3 separate regions of the Homo sapiens genome follow, and regions 1 and 3 are each linked to region 2. Evidence: promoter capture Hi-C in 16 types of primary human blood cells and fetal thymus (Javierre and others, 2016). All regions are on one chromosome and are shown on one strand. The core of a region is centred on a gene start or on the middle of the fragment in contact, and the rest is flanking DNA. Distances in the headings are between cores, read along the strand shown. Region 1 overlaps MCPH1 (microcephalin 1). Region 2 holds the start of ANGPT2 (angiopoietin 2). Region 3 overlaps MCPH1-AS1 (MCPH1 antisense RNA 1).

Evidence for each region. Contacts are between HindIII fragments. The CHiCAGO score rates a contact against its expected background, and 5 or more counts as called.
Region 1: a fragment that was not itself captured here is called in contact with the fragment with the promoter of ANGPT2 in region 2 in 12 of 17 cell types (naive B cells, total B cells, fetal thymus and 9 more); the score reaches 22.5 in naive B cells.
Region 3: a contact is called between a fragment that was not itself captured here and the fragment with the promoter of ANGPT2 in region 2, in 5 of 17 cell types (naive B cells, total B cells, endothelial precursors and 2 more). The highest score is 9.6, in naive B cells.

Annotation. Positions count from the first base shown.
Region 1 is chr8:6,439,940-6,443,902 of GRCh38, forward strand. MCPH1 (microcephalin 1) reads left to right here. Exons shown (of 14, transcript NM_024596.5): 7 at 2,128-2,217. Among named protein-coding and RNA genes, the nearest start is that of MCPH1, 35 kb to the left of the region's middle. The HindIII fragment of the contact is 2,562 bases long and covers 719-3,280 here.
Region 2 is chr8:6,561,360-6,565,595 of GRCh38, forward strand. ANGPT2 (angiopoietin 2) reads right to left here and starts at 1,886. Exons shown (of 9, transcript NM_001118887.2): 1 at 1,288-1,886. The coding sequence starts at 1,575. All of the region lies in intron 12 of MCPH1 (microcephalin 1), which reads left to right. RefSeq lists enhancers at 703-1,228, 1,229-1,755. The HindIII fragment of the contact is 4,979 bases long and covers 1-4,236 here.
Region 3 is chr8:6,661,340-6,665,259 of GRCh38, forward strand. The region is part of intron 1 of MCPH1-AS1 (MCPH1 antisense RNA 1); the gene reads right to left. Among named protein-coding and RNA genes, the nearest start is that of MIR8055, 41 kb to the left of the region's middle. RefSeq lists a silencer at 3,486-3,535 and an enhancer at 3,896-3,920. The HindIII fragment of the contact is 8,157 bases long and covers 1-3,920 here.

The DNA of each region.
Region 1 (3,963 bases), core at 750-3,249, 120 kb before region 2:
GTGTATCAGATATCTGTGTATACATGAAAAAGATACGGGTTTGGTTTCTGTGTGGAGGTGTAATTTCTGTTTTACCTAAATTAGATAATGACATATGTATTATTATCCGCTTTATTTACTTAAGAGTATCCTGGAGGGTTTGTTTGCAGCTTAGTTGTTGTAGACCTATTTTTGTTTTAAGATGCTCAAAGTAGTCTACAGTTTTGATATTGAAAATCTATTGGTGGGTATTTTTTTCCCAGTTATTAGAAATTGTGTTGCAGTTTTTATTCTTTTTTTAACCATATGGTTTGGTTGTTCTTGTTTTTTTGTTAAGCCATTTTCCTTTCTCTAGACATAAGTCTTTCCAGCTTCCCACCCCGACTTTTTACTGTTATAACCCCTGCATGTGCCTACGTGAATCCTTGTATTTCTGAGTACTTCGTGTATTTCAATAATACTAATTCATACATGCAGAATTTGATTTTTTAAAGACATAGAGTCTCCCTGTGTTGCGCAGGCAGGACATGCACTCCTGGGCTCAAGTACTTCTGCCTCACCCTCTCAAGTAGCTAGGAATACAGGTGTGTGCCACGATCCCTGGCTTATTGATAGATATAGTCAAATTATCCTTCAAAAAATTTGAGTCATCTTATTGTCACCAGTTGTTTATAAGAATGCCCCTTTCTCCATACTTGGAAAACTGAATGGCATTAGCCTGTAGCCTTTTTCAGTCGGAAGCTTGAAAAACTGGATCTGTTCTTGAAGTTACTTTTGATTAGAAGCAGGTTTAAGTGCCTTTTCATATTACTGACTGACTTACCGAATGCAGCTTTTAATGTGATCAACTATTACCTCGCTTAATTTTATGTCCTTTGTCCATATGTATCAGTTAAGGTTAGTTTCGGCTGCATATAACAAAGACAAAAACCAATGTGTTACAATCGATAGAATTGCCTTTCTCTGTCTTGCCTAGTTCAGAAGTAGGCAGCCAGGGCTGGGATGCCATTCCATGGTGTCTTTAAGAAACTAGGTTCCCATCTTTCTGTTGTACCTGCCTGGCTTTTCTTGCAAAATGTGTGTGCCTCCCAGCTAAGCCATCTCCTTTTGACAGCCTTACCAGACGTCTATCCAATATTCCTGTCTAATTCCATTGGCTGGAATGTGGTCATATGGCCACCCCTTTTGCAAGCAAGACTGAAATGTAGTCTTGACTGGGATGCATTGCTGTCCTGATAAAATCAAAGTTCTGTTGTTAAGAAGAAGTGAGAATGGACATTGAGGTAGATAACTAGCTGTGTCCCAGGTGGACATCCAAATTGTTTCAGTGTGCAATTATGTGTATAAACTAATTTGCCTTAAACTTTACTTTTTCTATTACTTGGCAGTGTTAATTCTGCTACTTTACTGCGTCCAGTACAGTTTAAAACTTAACTGAAAATTTTATGTGTGCTTCCCTTCCTTATCTTGGTTTATTCTCTTTTTTTGCTGAAGTTTTCTCAGAAAAGTATCCTTTTGAGTCTCTAAAAAATATCTTTGGATATAAGATCCAAACATTTCTTTTGTTTCTTGACTATTGTATGAACCGCCTTTGAAGATAATACTTACGATCTTATTTGTTAAGTCATTGACATCCTAAGTGTTTTCTATGAAACCTCTAGGATTTCTCAACCCAGCACAGCTGACATTTGGGTCTGGGTAATTCTTTGTTGGGGGCACTGCCCTGTGTGTGGTAGGAAGCTCAGCAGCATCCCTGCCTCTCCCCACTAACACTAGCAGTGTACCTACTGCTCTCCCTCACTGGCGATATCCAAAAATGTGTCCAGACATTACCAAATATCTGCTGGGACCCCAACGTCACCTCTGGTTGGGAAGCAGTGCTCTAGTTTTAGAGGTAACTATGATGAGCATCCTTGAAGAAAAATCCATGATTATCAAATAAGAAGACTAGAACAGACTGGAAATGTTCACTTAATTCTGTTGAGCTTCTGATTAGATTCAGGCAAGTTGACTTTAAGATCCCTTCTAACTTTGTGATTATAGGATTTAATAGAATCACCTATGATTAATAGGAGGACTTCCTGCTGGCTTCATCTGCTAAGAAATACTGAAACTTTATCTAATGCAGTGTCTTGGTCCTGTTTTTAGCTTCCCAAATGATTCAGCAGTCTCATGATAATCCAAGTAACTCTCTGTGTGAAGCACCTTTGAACATTTCACGTGATACTTTGTGTTCAGGTAAAATTTTTATTTTCCTTTCTGTGATATGTTTAAGTTTTGAGAATAATATGATTTTCTGATTTAGAATTTCATGTAGCAACTTCTGATGAGTAAAATAATTAGTTAAAACTAGAACTTCTAAATTTCCCCCTGAAATTAGGTATTATAATAAAATTAAGGCATGAGTTAAACTTCCTTTTTGGTTCCTATAGGTTTTTTTTCCTAGGCATTTGCTTTCTTGCTACAGAATCCATTGCTCTATTTAAAAAATTATTGTGAACGTATATGAACTAATCTGTATGCAGTTTAAACTACATAGAACTGAGGTCAGAGCTAAGGAAATGTTGTTTCACACAATGTATAATTAACACAAGGAACCTGTTATTGAACGGGGTCAGTGAAGTATGTAAAGATCGTCAATTGAGGAGATAAATAGAGGATTTCTAATTAGAAGCAGAAAGAACACTGGTAGGAATTAGTGCAGTTAGTTCCATGTTACGCACATACATGTTTGTAATGTGGGAGCCCTAGTTCCACTTAGGATGGTAATTTTTCATGGTCATATCTTCTTCGTACCAAATTTCTTACAGTTTCTTCACCTAGTCCCCAGTGGGGCTCAAGTAAGTAGCAGTGATCCCTGAAAGTACTATGTTCAAAAGTGCTTGAGATGTTATGGAAAATTTATCATGAAAGCCACAGCAATGACAAAGCGCAAGATGGCATCAAGATATTAGAAGTTTCAAACAAAGCCTCCTTTCAGCGCAGGGTTAATCCTTGTACTCTCACCTCTGTGTGCTGGAATTATTTACCCATTTCTCTTAAACAGTCTCCATCTTTTTATTTTACACTTGTTACATTTATTTCCTAGAAGTTGGAAACAAGTGATAATAATAGCTAACATTGATTTCATTTTTGTTGTTGTAGGCACTCCTCTAAGTGTCTTATTCACTGTTATCTCATTTATTCTCCCATTAGCCTTAAGAGGTAGGTTCCATCACCATCCCATTTTGCCAGTGAAAAACCAGGACACAGAGGTCAAACAGCTTGTCCAAGGTCATGTGGTTTGTGAATGGCAAACCCAAGCTTCTAACTTAGGCAGTCTGACATCACAGATTACACTCTTAGTGACATGTCACATTGCTTATCGGGTTTTTGAAAAGTGTGATAAAACATAAAACAATTTTAGGTGCTGAATAAGATATATTGAGCATCTAAAATTAAAAGTGACCTTATTTCCAACTACTGCCTTGAAGACACCTGGGGCACAGTTGGAAGGGAAGCTTTGGTGGTTACCTGTGTTCTTCCTTTTTAAAGTAGAACTTCAGTGATTTCAGACAGAGAGTTCTAACACTTACGTGACCTCCAGATTGAGTGATTTCTACAAAACACAGGCCCTCCACCAGCAAGTGCTGAGCCCCTATTGAGGGAGCCAGCACGGGACTAGAGACTTCTTCATATTCATTCCAGTAGCTTATAGCACAGTGACGGGCAGATGCCCACGTAACCATGGGGCAGTATGATGCATGATGGTGTGTAGCAGAGGGGGCAAGGCCAGGGAGAGCTGGCAAGGGCAGTGGGAGGGTCCCAGGGATGTTGACAACCCAGGTGGGTTTGGAAGGATGAATTGTATTTACCCAGAATAAAGTGTGGAGGAAAGGGGAAGGCCCAGAGGGTACAGAGGAGTATAGAATATTTAGGAGGTAGCAGCAGCTTAGCATTACTCTCAGGAAATGAGTAATCCATATAAGAGTTGAAACATTAAAG
Region 2 (4,236 bases), core at 636-3,135:
CTGGGAACATTCATTCACATTCATTCATTTAAGCTCATGACTCAAATAATAACTTAGTCGTTTCCTCTCTGAAGGTAGGGGAGGTAATGAGGAGCACCGATTAGGCTCCAAGATCCGTTCTGAGATTCAGATAAGGTGTCCTAACAAAAGGTTTATGGTGAAATGAAAGAGTGAGAAAATAATTGTGCTTTTTCTAGGGTCATGCGTCAAATGAGGCTCACCAACTTTTAAAAGACTTTACATAGCTTTAGATAATCACATTCCCTGCCATGTAAGCATTGTGATGTAATGGCATCATCATGCTACTTAACAATTAATTTATGCATTTTGTTTAAACTTCCTTTAGAATATATATAGTCCATATAAAGAAAATTCCAGGTTCGTTTTGGATTTTGTATAAATAGCTCCCATGTTTACATGTGAAAAAAAATTATTTATGAAAGAAAAACAGAGCTTTCAATATCCTATTTTGGTTACGTCTCCATAAAAACTCTAGGAAACAGTGGGATCATCTGTGAAACAGTGGAATCACCCCAAGAACAAACTGTCAGACAGACCGTCCTGTCGTGGCATGACTTGAACATAACCGTCCCACGTGGGGACGCATTCCGCACCGGTTGCTGGAACTGACGGGGGCTGCAGTGCTGAATACCTCTGGGACGCTTGGGAACTGTGCCCCTGTTTACAGACGGCAAGCCCTTAGTGGTAGGGCCCTGAGATTCTGAGAAACATAAGGTCTGCTTTATTTAATTTCCTCTCGTTTACCAAGAGTCACAACCTATTTTAGTAAATAAATTCAGGAAATTGGTAAAGCACTTTACTCCATCCGTTATGCCTCGGTCATCAGCATGGTTGTCACGGTCTCTCTGGCTCACGGGCTGCTGCGGCTCACAGCCTTCCCTCACTTGCCTGCAACCAGCTGAGAGCCTCCCTGGTGATGGGTGTTACTGAGCTTAAACGATGTAAACAAACAGAACGGCACACAAGTTGTGCAGGGAAGTATATTTCCTCTACCTTGTTAATAAAGATTTCTAACTTTAGAGATTTTCTGTATTGACTCTGGCATTCTTTCCAAATAATTATTTTCACCCCGGGGACTACCCACACACCCTGGGATAGAATAAAAGAAATTATCTTTCATTTGAGGGTACCAGCAACCCGCTCTCCAGCTCTAATCCTCTTCATCCTCCTTCTTTTTTTTTTTTTTTTTTTGGTTGTTAAAACCTGAGCTGCTGCCAAGCTGATCTTAATAGCATGTTCACAAAGACAGATGGATTTTTTTCCTACCTTCATTAGCCACTGAGTGTTGTTTTCCATGATGTTCTCCAGCACTTGCAGCCTCTGCACCGAGTCATCGTATTCGAGCGGCGCGTCCCTCTGCACAGCATTGGACACGTAGGGGCTGGAGGAAGAGCGGCAGTTGTCCATCTCTGGCAGGAGGAAAGTGTAGCTGCAGGACCCATGCTGGACCTGATATTGCTTCTTTCCTATGCTGTCCATGCTCTTCCGAAAGTTGTTATAGGCTGCGGCCAAGACAAGATCACAGCTCAGAGTAAAGAAAACAATCTGCCACATTCTTTCTTCAGTAATAAACCAGCAGCTTAGCAAACTTGAGGGCAAACACACGTCCAGAGTCCCGAGCTGCTGCCGTCTAAAACGCAGGGCTGCTACGCTGCCATGGCTGGGTCCGTCAATGAAAGTCTTCTCTTTCCTCTTTTTCCAGTAGCAAACCTGGTTTTTACTGCTGTGTTCTCTCCAGGCATGCAGTAAACTGTCAGATTGCAGTGGGAAGAACAGTCCTGCTCACTTGGGAGGGCTGTGTCAGCTTTTACAGAGCAGCTTTCACGGTCCTTTGTTCCTCTCTCCCCAGATCCTACAGTGTCAGTATCCGAATCAATCACTTTCCTTTCCTTATATGATAAGTTGATAAGAGCAGCCAGACATGTGTAGTGGGCTGCTCCGCCCTCCTGGCTTAGCCGTTATCTTCCTGTAGGGGGTCACTAGCCAGGCAACAGGAAAAATCAGAGCAGAATGCCTGCCCTCCAACCAGGACCCATGCTGCAGAAACCCTCTGGGAAAAACCGATCTGTTACAGGACCCCTGGGCATTTCCTAGGCACCACCCCAATTAAGTATTTCCTAGAGAGAGCAGTTGATCTCTTTTGTCTGAAACTGATTTTTGCCGTGCTAAGCTGGCAAAATATCTGAGGTAATAACTTTAATGTTGAAGTACAATGAAAGTTCCTGTTTTTTCCTTTAGGAATAAAAATATTACAAATAGGTCAGGACTTCGGTTTATTTTTGTTATTACAAATAAAGAGGAAGAAGTTTGGCTCCTGTAAACGTGTGCCTTTTCAGAGGGAAAAATAGATTCATTGATTTTAGTTGATTCTTGAACCACTAGCCAAGTTACAAAAGATTTTCATTTCCGAACAGTTGGATAGAAAGATCTGTTATTAAGTCACGTTAGAAACATCAGTTTCTGAGCTCTGACCTTTATTCTTTAAAAAAACTCCACTTGGATATTCACTCTAAAAATACACTGTACTGATTAAGTTCATTACATTACAATAGAGAAATTAGAATTTAAGTGCCTGTGTAGAAAGAGGAATACAAACTTTTTTTTTTTTTTTTTTTTTTTGAGACGGAGTCTCGCTCTGTCGACCAGGCTAGAGTGCAGTGGGGCAATGTTGGCTCACTGCAACCTCCGCCTTCCGGGTTCAAGTGATTCTCTTGCCTCAGGCTCCTGAGCAGCTGGGATTACAGGCAAACGCCACCACACCCGGCTAATTTTTGTATTTTTAGTAGAGACAGGGTTTCACCATGTTAGGCTGGTCTCAAACTCATGACCTTGTGATCGACTCGCCTTTGGCCTCCCAAAGTGCTGAGATTACAGGTGTGAGTCACCATGCCTGGCCCACAAACTTCTTTATTGTGTCAGAATTTGTTGACATCTCAGCATTTTGTAACACATTATCAATTACATTAGTCCCCCTTGGTATTAGACTCGGGCAAGTCACTTCCCTGTTTTAATTAAGCTCTAATGTCCTCATCTGTGCAATTCAAGGGGTGCACTCACAAGATTTTTCACCTTCAATCCTATGGCTCTGTAAGTTCTGCAAGTCACTTCCTTTAACAACTAAAACTTAATACTTCAGAGATTAATAATATGTTAACTCAGCAGCCCAAGTGTACATAGGGAAAAAGCCCCCTGCCTTTGCTGCGGTTTATCTCTCAAGGTACAAGGTTTATTATTCCCAGTGAGCGCTGAATAGCTGGTACACTGACTTAACAGACCACATCTACCCATAAAAGATCTTTATTTTTTACTAAGCTCTAACCGAAAGACAGCCTTTCCCTTATCAATGAATAGTTAACGAACAACAGTGTGAATATCTGTGACTTTCTCATCCTCAGAAATCAGCTCTTTTTATTTGCTGCCACAATACTCAGAACTACATTTTTATTAAACCCAGCCCTAGATCTTGCTACTGAACATTGGAATAAAGTAGCATGTGTCTTCTTTTGAGAAGGTGTTTATAGGCTTCACCAGACAACCAAAGGGTTCTGTCACACAGAAAAGCTGGAAGACATGCTCTGGAAGGATCTCATTAGTAGAAGAGGTAGTATGATTCCACCAAGGTTCTGGACATGGTTTCCACTAAGGGAACCAATTAAAGATGCTATACCCATCCGGACAGTGCACCGTCGAAGAAAGCATATAGGTCTTAAAGATGAGACCTGTGTTAGAACCCTGCTTCTGTGTGACCTCCAGCAAATGCTTCCATTCTTGGAGCCTCAGTCTCCCTAGTCATAAGATGGAGATCATTTTTTCTCTGTAGGGTTTTTAGGATTAAGATATAATTGTATGTTTAGAAATATTTGTTCCTTTTCTTTACAGGCATGCTCCATTAAATGGGGATCAGTTCTTCCACCATCAAATAGTATAACTCTGCTATTCTCTGAATGCAAAGCAGTGGCAGTGGCATAGGGTACAATTTTTTTATTTCCTGTTTGAAAAAGCATATTGTAAGGTATTAATATCACATATGTGGTTTTACCTTTTTTCAAGATTATTTTTTGTAGAGACGGGGTCTCACTCTTGTTGCCCAGGCTGGTCTTGAACTCCTGGCATCCAATGATCCTCTTGCTTGGCCTCCCAAAGTGCTGGGATCACAGGTGTGAGCCACTGTACCTGGCCTGCATATATGGTTTTAAAAGTCATTCAGTTGTCTTC
Region 3 (3,920 bases), core at 862-3,361, 100 kb after region 2:
TCTGGTTTCAATTTTTTTAATATTTGGATTACAGCTTATCTATGGGAACTCATAGTTGTTCCATCTTTAATATTCCAGATAGACGATTTACTGAAAAAGCTAATTCAGTATTGTCTCCCGTGAGCCAGCCAATGAAACCTCAGCCAACGCTGAGGAGGGAGCACTCGAGGGGAGGAACGCCATCCTGGGCTCTCTAGGGCTGTTGTCTGTCAACAGCGAGATGAGAACAACGGGCAACAGCAGCAGCTCCGTCGGCCCACGGCCGCCCCAGGGGCCCTGGGAGGGCGGGAAGGGAGACACTGCCAGACCTCAGAGCTTGGCACCAAGAGCCAGTTATCAGCCAGATAATGTACTCAACCAATGGCGAGAAACCCGACCATGAACTTATTGGGAACTGGTCACAGAAAAGAGAAGGACTCTTTGTCCTGAGTGTGTGAGGCTGTGATGGTAGGAGCCGCAGGGCTGTGACTCACACGATGCCACAAGGTTCCTTCCAAAAACAACTGGGGATGCTGTGTGGGGAAAGGGCTGATGGCACAGTAGGAGGTAACGGGCTCAAAACTGACCTCCTTTTTAGGGGTGAGGAAAAGACTGTCACCTCATCTTGTGGCTTCAGAGCCCAGAAGAGATTGTGGAGCAGCGGTTAGAGACTTACGGAGGAATTCTGATATTTTTAACTCTTCGGCACTTTGCTTTTCTTGAGCAATTCCCACACCACCCCTTTTTAAAGATTTATTAGATTCAGGGGCTACTTTATAATATCCTTGGAGCCCAAATTAGACTTTAAGCACATAACATATCTGAGCTTGAGGAGTTTAACTTCTTCAACAAAGGAGCAAAGAGATTTGGTGAAATGACCCCCATGGTCCCTAATGCTGATGGACCCACCGAAGTTAGCCTGTCACCAGAAGCAAAGGGATACTATTTTTAAGATATGAGGATCTTTTCCACATTTCTGTTCAAAGCAGTAACTTTGCAGCTTCATCTATTGAAGGCCTCATCTCCACCTGCTTTTCCTACCCTGGATTCACAGGGCTTGTGGTGCCCTCTCCCTGCCTCCACTCACCTTCCAACAAGTGCTGGAGTTTGATTCACACCAAACAGAAATAGCCAAAATTTGTAAGAACTCTATTGGGCAGCTCTTCTGTATCAATGACTGTACAGGCTCCAAGGGCCAGAAATAATGAAGATACAGCACCTATCTCAGCGAGCTGACAGCCTTGAAGGGGGATGAGGCTGGAAAACAAATGACAACACAGTGTGATAAGTTCACTGCAGACCAGGGAGAGCGACAACTTTGAGAAAGGGTGATTGCTTTTAAACGGAAAGGAAAAGAGCTTGGGAAATACTTCCAGAAGAAACTGACATCTAACTTAGGTGAGTTTTCTTTTTTTTTAGGTGGGGTCTCACTGCGTTGCACAGGCTGCAGTGCAGTGGCTATTCAGAGGCATGGTCATAGCTCACTGCAGCCCTGAATTCCTGCACTCAAGCGATCCTCCTCCCTCAGCCTCCTGAGTGGCTGCAACTACAGGTGCATGCCACCATGCCTGACTCTCTAACATAGGTTTCAAAGGAAGCATAGGAGTTCCGAGTGGAAAAGAGACCAAGGGAGAGGCCCGTGCCAGTCCCGAAGGTGAGGGGAGGTCTGAGGGCCTCAGGATTGCTGGAACTTCCAGTGGAAGGGCACGTTGAGGGGACGCAAGTGAGATATAAGCGTTGGGTAGTTAAGAAAGGCTATTGAAATTTTCCAGACAAGAAATGTTAAGGCGCAGAACACAGTGCTCACAGAGAGGGAAAGGAGGAGGTGGATTAGAAATGAAATTTTGGAAATGAAATTATTTGCTGCCTGAGTGGCTACGCAGGAGGAGCAGGGGGACAGAGTCAATCTGGATGAGTCTTGGACTCAGGCATAAAGTGTCAGCAGTCTTGGGAGGATCCACATCCTCACGGGAACCAGCTCCTTCAGCTAAAGGGAAAAGGTGCTTGGTGCTTCAGCCGGCCCAGAGCGTGCCCTCCATGGACACAAAGAAGCCAAGTTCTTGTTGCTAAAGGTGTTCAACAGAGAAATGTTGGAGGGCCAATTAAAGGCAAAGCCCACCACTTTATAACCACATTTTAGGCATATTAAACATTCTAGAATGTAATCATCAGACTTCTAAACTGAGCCATTTGTGTTATCCAAGAAAGTAAATCAGTGACTTATGTTTGCAGCAATATAATGAACATTATAATGGACCCCTGAAAATGCAGAGTGAATGGTAGGGAATTTGCAAGAAAGGTAGAGAAACGCTCTACCACTGGAGACAAGGTGGAGAAGCAGGTTGACATCCAAGCTGGGGAACATCATGTTGACCGAGCATTGTGTATACACAGGGCGTGTGTGCATCTGCGTGTGTGTGCATGTGTGTATATGTGCATTCATGTGTGTGTGTATGGGAGGTGGGCCGGGACAGGGGAGTTGGAATGGAGACCAACCTGATAAAGCTGACACTCTGGAAGGGTTAGACTCCCAGGAAGAAAGTTAAGAAGGGAGAAGGATAACATCTGCACAAAGGCAAACACAAAGCAACATCCTTTGTCAGCAACATCCTTAGGCACCTGGAAGAAGCAGACACACAACTTCCAGGAATAATGTCCCTGAACCTGGGCTTCTGATGATTCCCACCAATATGACCATCAATTAGAATGCGTGCACACACACAATTCCAAATAAATCATCAAGACAATCATTAGGAAAAATAACAGGACCAGATAGACCAAGACTTCAGGTGTTGGCGTCATCAGATACGGATGATACATGTTAAAAGAAATAAAAGGACGGAAAACCATGAGAACGGAACAAGAATGATAAGATGGAATTGAAAAGGAGGCAGATAGAACTTACAGAAAAAATTTTTTAAACTTAGAATTTAATATTGTTTAAAACGTTTTAGGTCCCCACATAAAAATAGATGGCCTGGGTAGCAAACCTAAGCCAAGGGCACCTTATGAGCTCCTTACAAGGGGCAAATTACTGCCAGCCACGAGCCCCATGAGGTTCCAGGTTCTGCATGGGTGGAAGAAGGAAACTCCAGGCAGCAGCAGACAGCTCTGGGAACAGCAGAATACCACACAGCTCAAGGTTATTCTCCATCTTTTGCTCTGTATTACCAGGAAGCCCAGCAGGGCCAACTGGACGAAAGCGCTTGGGTTTTGCCCAATGCAACTGCATATAATCGAGAGCAAGGGACCCACAGCTGGAAGGGCCCAAGAGTCTGGAGCTCTCTATCTCCCATGAACTCTCAAAACTGACCCATCTGAGTGCCTGTCTGGGCCAGGGCCCTACCCCGAGGAGAAATTCCTGGGAGTAGAATCAAAATCAATCAAGACAGGCATGACAGAGACAAGAGAAAAAGAAGGTCCACACCAGGCCAACAAATCCCTCTGTTATGAACCAGATAGTAAACATCGTAGGCTTTGAAGTCCAGACGGTCTTGCTGCTACTACTCGGCCCTGCGGTTATAAGGTAAAAGCAGCCACACATGACATGTAAATGAATGGGCATGGCTGTGTGCCAAAAAAACTTTATTTATGAACACTGAAGTTTGCATTGTACACAATTTTCACGTGTGACAAAATAGTATTCTTTGTTTGTTTGTTTCAACCATTTAAAAATGTAAAAAGCATTTTTAATGCACAGGCTATACAAAACTGGTGGTGGGCCAGAGTTTGATTTCTGTCTCCTGGTGTTGATGAAAGAGGCTTTGAGAAAAAGATGCAGGAAAACTCAAGACAGGATGCCATGCTGCTTTTGGACATTACCAAAAACAGCAGAAGAGGGAGCCCCGCAAAGGTAAAAGAGCACTCCTACACCCAGCCACATCCTAAAGGCTCAGGCAAATGAATTTCCCATAAAAATAAGCAACAGAAAATATCCAAGT